Regions from separate parts of the Homo sapiens genome. Here region 1 is linked to region 2. Evidence: promoter capture Hi-C in 16 types of primary human blood cells and fetal thymus (Javierre and others, 2016). All regions are on one chromosome and are shown on one strand. Each heading gives the region's core, a stretch centred on a gene start or on the middle of the fragment in contact. The rest is flanking DNA. Distances are from core to core; before and after follow the strand shown. Region 1 overlaps BLOC1S6 (biogenesis of lysosomal organelles complex 1 subunit 6). Region 2 holds the start of SHF (Src homology 2 domain containing F).

What was found. The method cuts DNA at HindIII sites, captures the fragments that hold promoters and counts their contacts. A CHiCAGO score of 5 or more calls a contact.
Region 1: a contact is called between a fragment that was not itself captured here and the fragment with the promoter of SHF in region 2, in 1 of 17 cell types (erythroblasts). The highest score is 6.0, in erythroblasts.

What each region holds. Positions count from the first base shown.
Region 1 is chr15:45,600,483-45,606,565 of GRCh38, forward strand. It overlaps BLOC1S6 (biogenesis of lysosomal organelles complex 1 subunit 6), which reads left to right. Exons shown (of 5, transcript NM_012388.4): 3 at 2,618-2,705; 4 at 4,946-5,032; 5 at 5,913-6,083. The coding sequence ends at 6,032. Among named protein-coding and RNA genes, the nearest start is that of BLOC1S6, 16 kb to the left of the region's middle. The HindIII fragment of the contact is 4,089 bases long and covers 2,790-6,083 here.
Region 2 is chr15:45,185,450-45,190,954 of GRCh38, forward strand. It overlaps SHF (Src homology 2 domain containing F), which reads right to left and starts at 2,517. Exons shown (of 7, transcript NM_001394037.1): 1 at 2,005-2,517. The coding sequence starts at 2,502. It overlaps LOC124903481 (a long non-coding RNA gene), which reads left to right. Exons shown (of 2, transcript XR_007064608.1): 1 at 1-1,009; 2 at 2,666-3,369. RefSeq lists an enhancer at 945-1,497 and a silencer at 2,412-2,461. The HindIII fragment of the contact is 22,026 bases long and covers 1-5,505 here.

The DNA.
Region 1 (6,083 bases), core at 3,584-6,083, 420 kb after region 2:
CCTAGTTTGTTGATGGTTTATAGTCATGAATAGATGCTGGATTTTGTCAAATGCTTTTTCTACATCAATTGATAGGACCATGTAATTTTTCTTCTTTAGCCTGTTGATGTGGTAGATTACATTGATTGAATTTTTGAATATTGAACCAGCTTTGCGTATTTGGCAGAAATTTTACTTGGTTGTGGTATGTAATTCTTTTTACACATTGTTGGATTCAATTTGCTAATATTTTGTTGAGGAGTTTTATATCGATGTTCATGAGAGATACTGGTCTATAGTTTTTCTTTCTTGTAATATCTTTATCTGGTTTGGCTTTAGGGTAATGCTAGCCTCATAGAATGAGTTGGGAGGTGCTCCTTTTGCTTCTGCAGTTGTTGCCCTTTATCCAAAGGAGGATATGTTCCAAGACCCCTAGTGGATACAATATTTTAAATAATTTTGTGCATGAAACAAAGAGTTTTGACTGTGACTTATCACATGAGGTCAGGTGGGTCATTCATTGTCCAAATGTTTCAGGTTTTGCAACATTTTGGATTTTCAGGTTATGGATGTCAGCCTTTATACACTATGTTTTTTCCTATACTTACATACCTATGATAAAGTTTAATTTATAAGTTAGGCATAGTAAGAGATTAACAACAATAACTAATAATAAAATACAGCAGTTATACTATAATAAAAGTTAAGTGAATGTGGTCTCTCTTTCAAAATATCTTATTGTGCTGTACTTACCCTTCTTGTGATGATATAGCACAGCTGCAGTTGACTGTACGTGCCTAAAACTGAAGAAAGCAAAACTGCAGATAAAGGAGGACTGACATATTTTCTGGAAGAGACTGTGGGGAATTGGTATCACGTCTTCCTTAAATGTTTGGTAAAAATTACCAGTGAAGCCGTTTGGTCCCGGTACTGTCTTTTTTGGAAGGTTATTACTTACTGATTCAATTTGTCTAATAAATATAGGCCTACATAAACTTTTTGTTTCTCCTTGTATAAGTTTTGGTAGTTTGTATCTTTCAAAGAATTAGTCCATTCCATCCACATTATCAAATTTATGAGCACTGAGTTGTTGAAAATATTCATTTATTATCCTTTTAATGTCATGGGATCAGTGGTGATTACTGCTCTTTCATGAATAATACTAATACTTTGGGGTTTTTTTTTCTTGATTGGTCTCACTAGAGGTTTATCAATTTTATTGATCTTTTAAAGAACCACCTTTTTGTCTCATTGATTTTTTTGTTTTCCCCCTTCTATTGTTTTCTAGTTCTAACAGCCTATTTTTGCTGTCCTGTGTATCTCAGATGGTTGACTTGCTGGGTTTTCCTCTCATCCATTCTGTATTTCACTTTCTGTGATCTCTAGTCCAAGCTGGAGGGACAAAGTTATTTATTTATTTATTTATTTATATTTGTAGAGATGGGGTCTCACCCTGTCACATAGGCTGTAGTACAGTGGTGTGATTATAACTCACTGCAGTTTCTAACTCCTGGGCTCAAGCAATCCTTCTGCCTCAGCCTCCCAAGTAGCTCGGACCACAGGTGTGTGCCACCACACCCAGCTCATTTTTTGTGTGTGTGTGTGTTTTTTTTGTTTTTGTAGAGGGTCTTGCTTTGTTGTCCACGCTGGTCTTGAATTCCTGGCTTCAAGCAATCCTCCTTCCTTGGCCTCTCAAAGTGCTGGGATTATAGGCATGAACCACTGTGCCCAGCCAAGAGACAAATTTATGACCTGTAGGGTATGCCAGACTCAGTGCTGGATAGTAGAGATGTTGTAATTGCCCTGAGCCTGTTCGTTGTTATTTCTTTTTTTTTTTTATCATTATTCTCTAGATAGCACAGTTTTACAAGCAAATGACATATTTTTCTTTGTAGCATTCTTTAAAATATTCAGGTAGGTGACCCTTTTAATGTCACTTATTCCTGTGATCCTAACATTGATTGATGTGTAAAGAAATATCAAGGAAGTTGGCTTCTCTTCCTCAATGAGTTTTGAATTAGAATTGTAATGAGAAACATTAGAAATTATCTGGTCTGATCTTCTCACTTTGTAAATGAGGAGATTTAGGCCAGAGAAATAAACTGAATTTCTAAGATCATATAGCTAACTGGCTGTTGGCCGGGGAAAGCTATGATTTCCAGTCCTGTGCTTTTTTCATCTTACTGCTTAATTATTCTTTTTGACTTACTATCCCTTGATACTTCATCTTCCTCACCTCTAATCTGAAAAACCATTGTTCCTCATTTCCTTTATGGGAATGTTGCAATTTTAAGATATATAAAACATTGAACTTCTTGGGCAAAATACTATAAAAAACTTCTTTTTTGGAATAATACAGAGAGTTGTTAAAAGTAACAAGTAATAAAATACTTTTAAATGATTGGATTATTTTAGTTATTAGAAATTGAAGCAAGAATAAAAGACACATTTAGTTATCAGAATGTGGCTTTAGAATATTATTTTGAAAAATCTTATTCTATATTAAATAAACCTTAGAGAGTTAATACATTTCCTACTTAACTAACTGTTACCATTAACCAAGATGAATATGATTCCTTTTAATGGACCGGCACTTTAAATATGTAGAGTTTGTCTTGGCTGTGTGTTTTTGTTTCAGACAGAACCAAGTTGTATTGTTAGACACACTGGAACAAGAGATTTCAAAATTTAAAGAATGTCATTCTATGTTGGATATTAATGCTTTGGTAAGTATGATTTAGTTGATGTAATTTAATGACATCTTGTCTTAGCAATAGCTAAGACTTAGCTAAGCAATAGCTAAGATTTTAAGCTTAGAATTTGTCTTTTTAACAAGAAACCTTGATTGAACTTCTGTTGTGTTGAATTGTTATCTTTCAAATGTTGAATTTATAGTAGGAAATTTAACTTATTTGTGCATTTGGAATAGATCTGCTTATAATTGAAGACTTAGAAAAGAGAACTTAGACTTGGCATAGTGGCTCATACCTGTAATCCCAGCACTTTGGGAGGCTGAGGCAGGAGGATTGCTTGAGCCTAGCAGTTCAAGACCAGCCTGGGCTACATAGTGAGAACCCATCTCTACAAAAAGTAATTTAGAAAAATAGTTGGGCATGGTGGCACATGCCTGTAGTCCCAGCTTTTCCAGAAACTGAGGTGGAAGGATTGCTTGAGCCCAGGAGGTCGAGGCCACAAGTGAGCTGTGATTGTGCCACTGTACTCCAGCCTGGGTGACAAAGGGAGACCCTGTCTCAAAAAACAAACAAACAAAAAGAGCGAACTGGAAGTAATGAACCTTTGGGGTACCATTTTTTTTTTCTTTAAAGAAAGTGCATTTCTCTTTACCAATTACATGGTTTCTTAAATTAGCATTTTATTTAATTATATGGCATATTCATAATGCTATAATAAATTAATGCTATAGGCTGAAGTGGACGCTTTGAGAATGATCAGTTATATCTTTCAATATAAATAGTTGAACAGTTGAATTTCATCAGAAGTTCTATAGCTTTTTGATGAGAGGAAGTGATACTCTGTATTATAAGAAACAAGGAATTAACCAAAAAAAGGAACTTGTTTTGCTACCTTTATTTTCTGATGAACATTAAAAATAGTTTTGTTTGTGGGCAGGGCACAGTGACTTATGACTGTAATCCCAGCACTTTGGGAGGCTGAGGTAGGAGGATTACTTGAGGCGTGCAGTTTAAGACCAACCTGGCCAACGTAGCAAGACCCCATCTCTATTAAGAAAAAAAGAAGCTGGGTTTACATGACTGTAGCCATTCATGCATACCTCAAAAAAATGGACTTTTCTTTGGACAAAGATGGTTTACTAATGTTTTCCATTTGTAACAATTAAAAACAAAGTTCATATTCTCTGGCATTAGAGGCCTGTGGAAGTAAATACAGAGCCATCTGCCCAGTAGTTCCTGGTTTCTTGCGAGGGAGGTGGGCAAGGCTACACTGACCTATTTTTGTGTTCCCCACTGAAATCCTGTTGCAACAGAAGGAATATTTGTTGAATGAATGAATGTTGAATGAATTAACCAAGCAGATGTAATACTGTTGCTTTAGTCTGAAGGGGCAGGATGGAGTCTTCCTCTTTTTTCTTCTCTTAGTCAAGAGTAGTTTTTATTATCATCTGGGAACTGAAAACTGGAAGGCCCAGGATATGTAAAAAGGCACTGTAACTTCTGAGCTAATCAGACAATGACTTTACTTGCAGCTACATTAAGGCTGTGAATCTCTCTACTGACATTTCTTTCATTTCTTCTCTTTCTGTAACCTTGTCTGAAAATAGGGTGCTTTTCTCCTTCTCTCTGACATCTCTAGGCTTGCATCATCCTCCCATCTTCTCCTGACATAAGACTTCATTTTAGATTATGCAGGTTGGCTGAGTTGTAAAGTCTGTACTTAAGACTCCTCAAGAAGGAAAGTGTCCTCACAGAGATCATTCTGCTTAGTCTGACTAAAGCAGCCCAAGGAATGGATTAAACTTGTCCACAGTCCTTTCTGTCCAGGGCTCTGTGGCCACAGTTTGGGTTTTCCTTATGGGCAGACACTTCACTTAAACTGTTTCATGTGCTCTGGCTCAGTCTGTCTCTTGTAAAGGCAGAGAGAATGTTTTACTTTTCTTAAATGAAACTGATAGCATTATTAGATAGTCTTATCTGAAATTTTAGAATTATATGTTTTTAAAGCAAAATATTGTCTATGCCCATCTTAATATAAATGTCTATTTTATGTTTAGTAACACTTTTGTCAATCTGAACTAAATCAAATGTCTTTCAAATCCTACTAACAATATAAGGAAATCTTTATTTTGGAATTAAAATGTGAAGATAAGGCTGTAAAAATTTTGACCAATTTAGGAAGCACAAACTATCATTTATATATTGCCTTATTTATTCATTTTGATATTTTAGTCTATTTTAACTTGACTTTTCATTTATTTTTCCATGTTAAGTTTGCTGAGGCTAAACACTATCATGCCAAGTTGGTGAATATAAGAAAAGAGATGCTGATGCTTCATGAAAAAACATCAAAGTTAAAAGTGAGTTGAAAATTCTTTCACATTCTTTACAAAAGTAGAGGTTTAATTGTTTTTTGTTGTTTTTTTTTTTTTTCAGTATTCTTTTTTTTTTTGAGACGGAGTTTTGCTCTTGCCGCCCAGGCTGGAGTGCAATGGTGCAATCTCGGCTCACTGCAACCTCTGCCTCCGGGGTTGAAGCGATTCTTCTGCCTCAGCTCCCCAGGTAGCTGGGATTACAGGTGCCCGCCACCACACCCACCTAATTTTTGTATTTTTAGTAGAGACAGCGTTCTACCATGTTGGCCAGGCTGGTCTCAAACTCCTGACCTCAGGTGATACGCCTGCCTTGGCCTCCCAAAGTGCTGAGATTACAGGCGTGAGCCACTGTGCCCGGCCAGTATTCATATTTTGACTTTTATACCCTCATATACAATAGCATAATTCATTCATGGTACATTGTTTTCTTTTTAAAAATGTCATTGTTTAAGAAATATTAGAGACAGGGTCTCACTACGTTTCCGAGGCTGGTCTTAAACTCCTGAGCTCAAGCAGCCCTCTGGCCTCGACCTCCCTAAGTGCTGGGATTACAGACATGAGCCACTGCGTGCAGCCTTAAAAATATCATTTTTTTTTCAACTGCACTCTGAGCATTTTTACTAATAGCTGGGCTGATAGGCTTAGATTCTCTGGATATGCCCTACAGTTCTCATTTAATAAGAGTTTAGAGCAACAAATTTTTTTGAATCAAAGGGACCTTAAATTATCCCAAATTTAAATGTCCAAGATGAAGTTTATTAGTGTGAATGAATTACCTCAAAGCAGAGCACTGTTATTTTCAAATTAGGCTAAACCTGTAACCCCTGATTGCTCTCTTGGTTTTTAAATTTTTTTTTTAACACAGAAAAGAGCACTTAAACTGCAGCAGAAGAGGCAAAAAGAAGAGTTGGAAAGGGAGCAGCAACGAGAGAAGGAGTTTGAAAGAGAAAAGCAGTTAACTGCCAGACCAGCCAAAAGGATGTGAAAAGTTGTGTTTGTGTGTTTTCTTCTCCTGTCCCATATTTGGGTTATGATG
Region 2 (5,505 bases), core at 1,267-3,766:
GCTGCTCTCTCTAAATGGTGGGAGGCCCCAGGTCAGGGCCCAGAGAGATAGCATCCCTGCCCCGGGCCAACTCAGATGGCATCCTGGGTCTTTCTCATCACACCCATTAAAGAAACCACAGATTGTATGGCTCCTGGGAGAGCCTGCTGGATTTCATTCCTGTCCCTGTAGCTGACAAAGGAGTCAGACATCTCTTGGCCCCTAAGTCTGAACAGCACACAGATCACAGAGCTGACCCAAGCTGAGGCATGGAGGCCCTTGGCAAGAAGAGGCTGTGAGTCTCTGCATAGAACTGTGTGGGTGCACCCCTTCCTTGGGGGTGTCTGGGAAAATGTGCAAGGGAAGCTGTGGCTAGGGGAGTCTCCGACCCTCACGCCACCCTGATAATGGACAGTCACCATTCAGGACATATTTATGTACCCTTTTTTATGTCAAGCATTGTGTCAGGCACTTGGGAGACACAAGAAGACATGGTCTGTGTCCTGGAGGAGCCCATGGCTTGGTGGGCAGCCTGTTAGGGCATCCAAGCCACTGTAGAGAGGAGAAGGGCCAAAGACAGCTCAGGCCCATGTTGCCTGTGCCAAACAGGCAGTGGTTAGAGAGGAGGAGACTGACTGGTCAGTGGGAAGAACAGGGCCTATCCCTCTCCTCTGTCTCACTGTCACTACCTCCATCACATCACACAATAGCAGGGGACAAGAAGCAGACGAGCACAGCCTTGGAGAAGTGCCCTTGAACCTTCCTCTGCAGAATAAGTATCCTGGCCCAGGATGGGCAGCCATGCCCCATGGCAAAAACTAGGGGAAAAATAATTTGCATTCCTGAGGCTTCTGCTCTGACCCTGACAGATCTCTCTCATCCAGGAAATCTGGCGGAACGGCGCTCTCTCAGCTAAAAAGCCTCAATCCTGGAGCCAACGGATTCGGAAAGCAACTTTGCACTCCAATCAAATAAAAATGTTCTTCTCTGCTGAGGAGAAGGGGGCAGGCCCCAGAACTGAGCTCTCGGGGTGAGTGAAGAAGGACAGCAGAGCCAAGGCAGCCCACAGAGTCATCATCACAGAATTTAGGGGCCTGGGATGGCTTTCAGCTCTCACTCTGCCAGGGAGGGATAAGGCCAACCCGAATCAGGGCAGGGCCCTGAGGCATGGTGGATTTCCTGTTCTCCTCCCTATCCTGGTGCCTGCAGACCCAGGAAAAGCTCCAGCCTCCCTCAGAATGGACCAGGGGGAGAGGGAGGCCAGGAGGAGAGGAGGAATGGGCTCAGCTGCTTAGCCCCATGTGGGCAACAGGTCCTGAGCACTGACTATCCTCATACCTGAGAGGACGAGGGAAGGAGGGAGGAGTGGGCCTGGACCCCACGAAGCCCCCTTGGCAAGAGCTGTAAGCTGCCTGTCTTCGCCTCCTGAGAACAACAGCCTATAGGGCAAAGGCCAGCTCGTGCTGTGTCCGCAAGGAGAAACCCGTCTTCACCTCCTTTCTGGGGCTTCAGCACCTGCAAGGATGCTTAGGCTGGAGAAACAGGAGGAGGAAGAGGAGGAGGAAGCAAAGAGGCAACAGGAGGGAAGAGCTTTGTGCTGGCTATGCCCAGGGGGAAGGGTCAGAGATCAAAGGGCACTGAGCCGCTGCTTCCAGAGGGGCAGAAAGGCCATCAACCAGTGGGGGTTGGGAGGTGCGCCTCAATTCCCGTTAGCAAAAGGCTCATGGATCAGGCTAGAGGGGGCTACGAAGTGGAGAGCCAGCCCGGGAGGGGGAGGGTCACCAGTTCTGGGGCCATTACAAAGGATAGGGCAGAGGGGCAGAGTTTGGGGCTTCCGTCTCAGATTAGTCGGTTGAGAATCTGAACAAAGGTGGGTGAAGGCTCGGAACCCCGGGGTCAGGGGCTCGCGTCTGCCAGAAGCTGAGACACCGAGGGGCCCGGGCCAGGCCACCTTTGTCCCTCTCGCAGCCTCCAGACCCCTGACCGCCTTCCCTCCTGGCCATCCCGGCCCGGCGCGGCACTCACCCTATCGCTGCTGGCGGGGGGTCCGGAGATCCGCTCATCAGCAGGCGGCGCCGGGGGCCCCGGGGTCTCGACCCGAATAAGGCGGTGTGGGGGAGAGCCGTGGCGCGGGGGCGGCGTGGGTCCGGGGGCGACAGGGGTGGCGAGGGCGGCGGAGCCGGACGACCCCCCGGAGTAGGGGTCTTCGAAGTCGCGCTCCCGCTGCAGCCTGTAGGCGGCCAGGATGTCCGGGGGCGGCGCGGGGGGCGCGGCCGGAGAGGGCGCAGGGGGGCGGTAGTCGGGCTCGGGGGGCGCCGGCTTGCTGCCCCCTCCGCCGCCGCCCCCCCCGCGGAAGCCCAGGTGCTCCCGGAGCCACTTGGCTACTCCGCCGCTGCCGCCCCCTCCTGGGCCGGCTCCCGCACCCCCGGCGCCCCGGCGGGACCCCCCCGGGCCGCCCCCAGCGCTCCCCTGCGTTCGCGGCCCCGGGCGGGAGCCAGCCGGAGGAGCTCCGCTCAGTAACATGGGGCCAGCCAGACTGAGCGAGGGGAGCGCAGCGGCGGGTGGGGGGCGGGGGCGGGGGTGGGGAGGGGGGCGGGGCTCCGCCGGGCGGGGAGGGGGCGGGGCGCTTCAGTAACAAGGGAGAGGCGGGGCTCCGCTCCCTAACAGGGTCTTCCTCCTCCCGTAGCTCGGAAGAGTGTACGCGGGCTTCCAGCCGGTATGCACAGGCAAGAAGTGAAGTGGGCAGCCCTGGGGCAGAGGATGCGACTACTGGACTGAGGTTGAATCCTTTACGTGTCGCCACGCGGTCCCCTGTGGGGAGCGCATCCATCCCCATCTGTTCTTTTCCCCAGCTCCCAGCTCGTGCGAGACGCAAAGAGGGGAGCCCCCAGACTCCTGACTCTAGGGAGCCTTACGCCTCTCCTCTTCCCTCTCCCAGGATCTCGCAACTGGGAAACTATAATCTAGGAGGAAAATCTAGGCGGGCAAGAAAAGGGGCTAGGTTCTGTAAGATGTGTCTGTAAGCCTCCTCCTCCCGTGCTACCTTGGGAGCCCCACAACCTCCTCCCATCCAACCGTACGCACTGCACATACCCGAACCTACGTTACTTCCCGATCCAGGCAAACACATCTCACATCACATACAAACAACTCCCTAGAGACGCCCACTTCTCCCGTGTCGTTTTCACACACGCCCTTCTCACACGCAAACAGCCCTCGCTCAAACATCCCCCACCCACGGGAGCACCTGCTCCAAACGGGCCCACATGGCCCTGACGATAGCATGCGCACGCACGCAGAAATCCCTTCCAGCCACATCCCGGGCTTCATTGTCAATCAGATTAGTAACAGAATGGAAACAGACAAGTCAATAAATCAAGTCTAGAAACAGTCCCAGTGTTGTCTATCACAAACTCCTTATCCTCTTGAGGCTCAGATGCTCAAGTGCTAGGCATTTTTGTCTTAGAAATAAAGCCAGTTCCGGCTGGGCGCGGTGGCTCACGCCTGTAATCCCAGCACTTTGGGAGGCCGAAACGGGAGGATCACGAGGTCAGGAGATCGAGACCATCCTGGCTAACACGGTGAAACCCCGTCTCTACCAAAAATACAAAAAAATTAGTCGGGTGTGGTGGCGGGCACCTGTAGTCCCAGCTACTCGGGAGGCTGAGGCAGGAGAATCGCTTGAACCCAGGAGGCAGAGGTTGCATTGAGCTGAGATTGCGCGACTGCACTCCAGCCAGGGCGACAGAGTGAGACTCCGTCTCAAAAAAAAAAAAAAAAGAAAAAGAAAAAAGAAAAGGAAAGAAATAAAGCCAGTTCCTCACCATAAATGTAGGCCTGAAGCCAACACCAACACATTTGCTCTTGGCTCTGCTGGGAAAGCAGCTGTCTCACCTCACTTTACCCCACCCCCTTTCCCCCACTGCCTCAGTGTCTCCGCACTCCTAGGTTCATGTCTGCCTTTTTTTTTTTTTTTTTTTTTTTGAGACGGAGTCTCACTCCGTCGCTGGAGTACAGTGGCACGATTTCAGCTTACAGCAACCTCCACCTCCCGGGTTCAAGCAATGCTCCCAGCTCAGCCTCCCTAGTAGCTGGGATTACAAGCGTGCGCCACCACACCTGGTTAATTTTTTGTATTTTTAGTAGAGATGGAGTTTCACCGTGTTGGCTAGGCTGGTCTCGAACTCCTGACCTCAAGTGATTCCCCACCTCGGCCTTCCAAAATGCTGGGATTACAGGTGTGAGCCAACGGCACCTGGCCATATCTGCCTTTTGAGGGCGCAAAAAGCCAAGAGGCCCCAAAGGAAAGGAGTTCAAAGCGGGGGGTGTAAAGAAGGATGTAATGGCAAAACTGTGAATCTCCTGGGATTCCCAGGGCCCCGAGTCTCAAAATATTTGTTGAGTTCCTGCTTTGTGCAAATTCTAGTTGGGCGAGGTGGCTCATGCTTGTAGTCCCAGGTACCTGGGAGGTTGAGGTGGGAGAATTGCTTGAGCCCAGAAGTTCAAGGCTGCAGCGAGCTATGATTGTGCCACTGGTCAGACAGTGCTGCTTGTATTTAGGACAGTGCTTCTGATCAAGCCAGTGCTGCTTGTATTTAGGACAGTGCTTCTCAAACTTTAATGTGGACACTAATCTCCTGGGGATCTTGGTAAGTTACAGATTCTGACTCTCTAGGTCTAGCTGGGGTGGGGTCCCAGGTGATACAGATACTGCTGGTCCCAGACCACATGTTGAGTAGCTGGACTGTAGGAGATACTGGAGAATCTGATGTTGAACTTGGTTTTATGAAGTATAATAGAGAAAATAACGTGCATATTTTTAAAATGTGCAGTTAAATTGACTAATGGTGCAAAACGAAGCTGGACATAGAGATGATAAATAGAGAAGAATGGTCCAGTTAATGTATATCAGAGAGTCTCCACAGTCACCAGGTGTGAGGGCATGGATAGGTAACTAATAAGAAATCCAATAGTTGTGGGCTGTAGCCAGGTATTTGGGGAAGGTACTCAATGCTACTGATACTTGCTTTCATGATCTCTGGAAAGGGCGTGATAATCATTGTGTGAGGATTAAGGGAGGTGATGAATATGAAAAAGGTTTGAAAACTGTAAAATGCTTACAGTGGAAGGTGTGACATGAGTTAAACTGCTTGACAGCTCAGAGGAATGAAATCAATCAAGTCTGCAGGCTTCATGCAGGACAGGAGGTAGACCTGAGCTGGGTAGGATTTGGACAGATGAAGCAAAGGAGTGAAAGGTCATTCCAAGACAGGAGGTCGGCATTAGCTGGACAAAGGCATAGAGGTGGGAACCCGCACACCATAAAAAAGGGGAGTATTCATGATGGGAAGAGTAGGAATAAAATAAGATGGGAAGGAGGGAAGATGTCATAAAGGCAGGGTTTAAACAATAATTTTAAAATTATAAAAACTTGTGTGCACCATACACTTACTCTTGTTTTAAAAGATCTGCTAATGTACTTTCCTCCATTACCAGAGTATGAGCTCCTAAAAGCAGGCAGTTTGA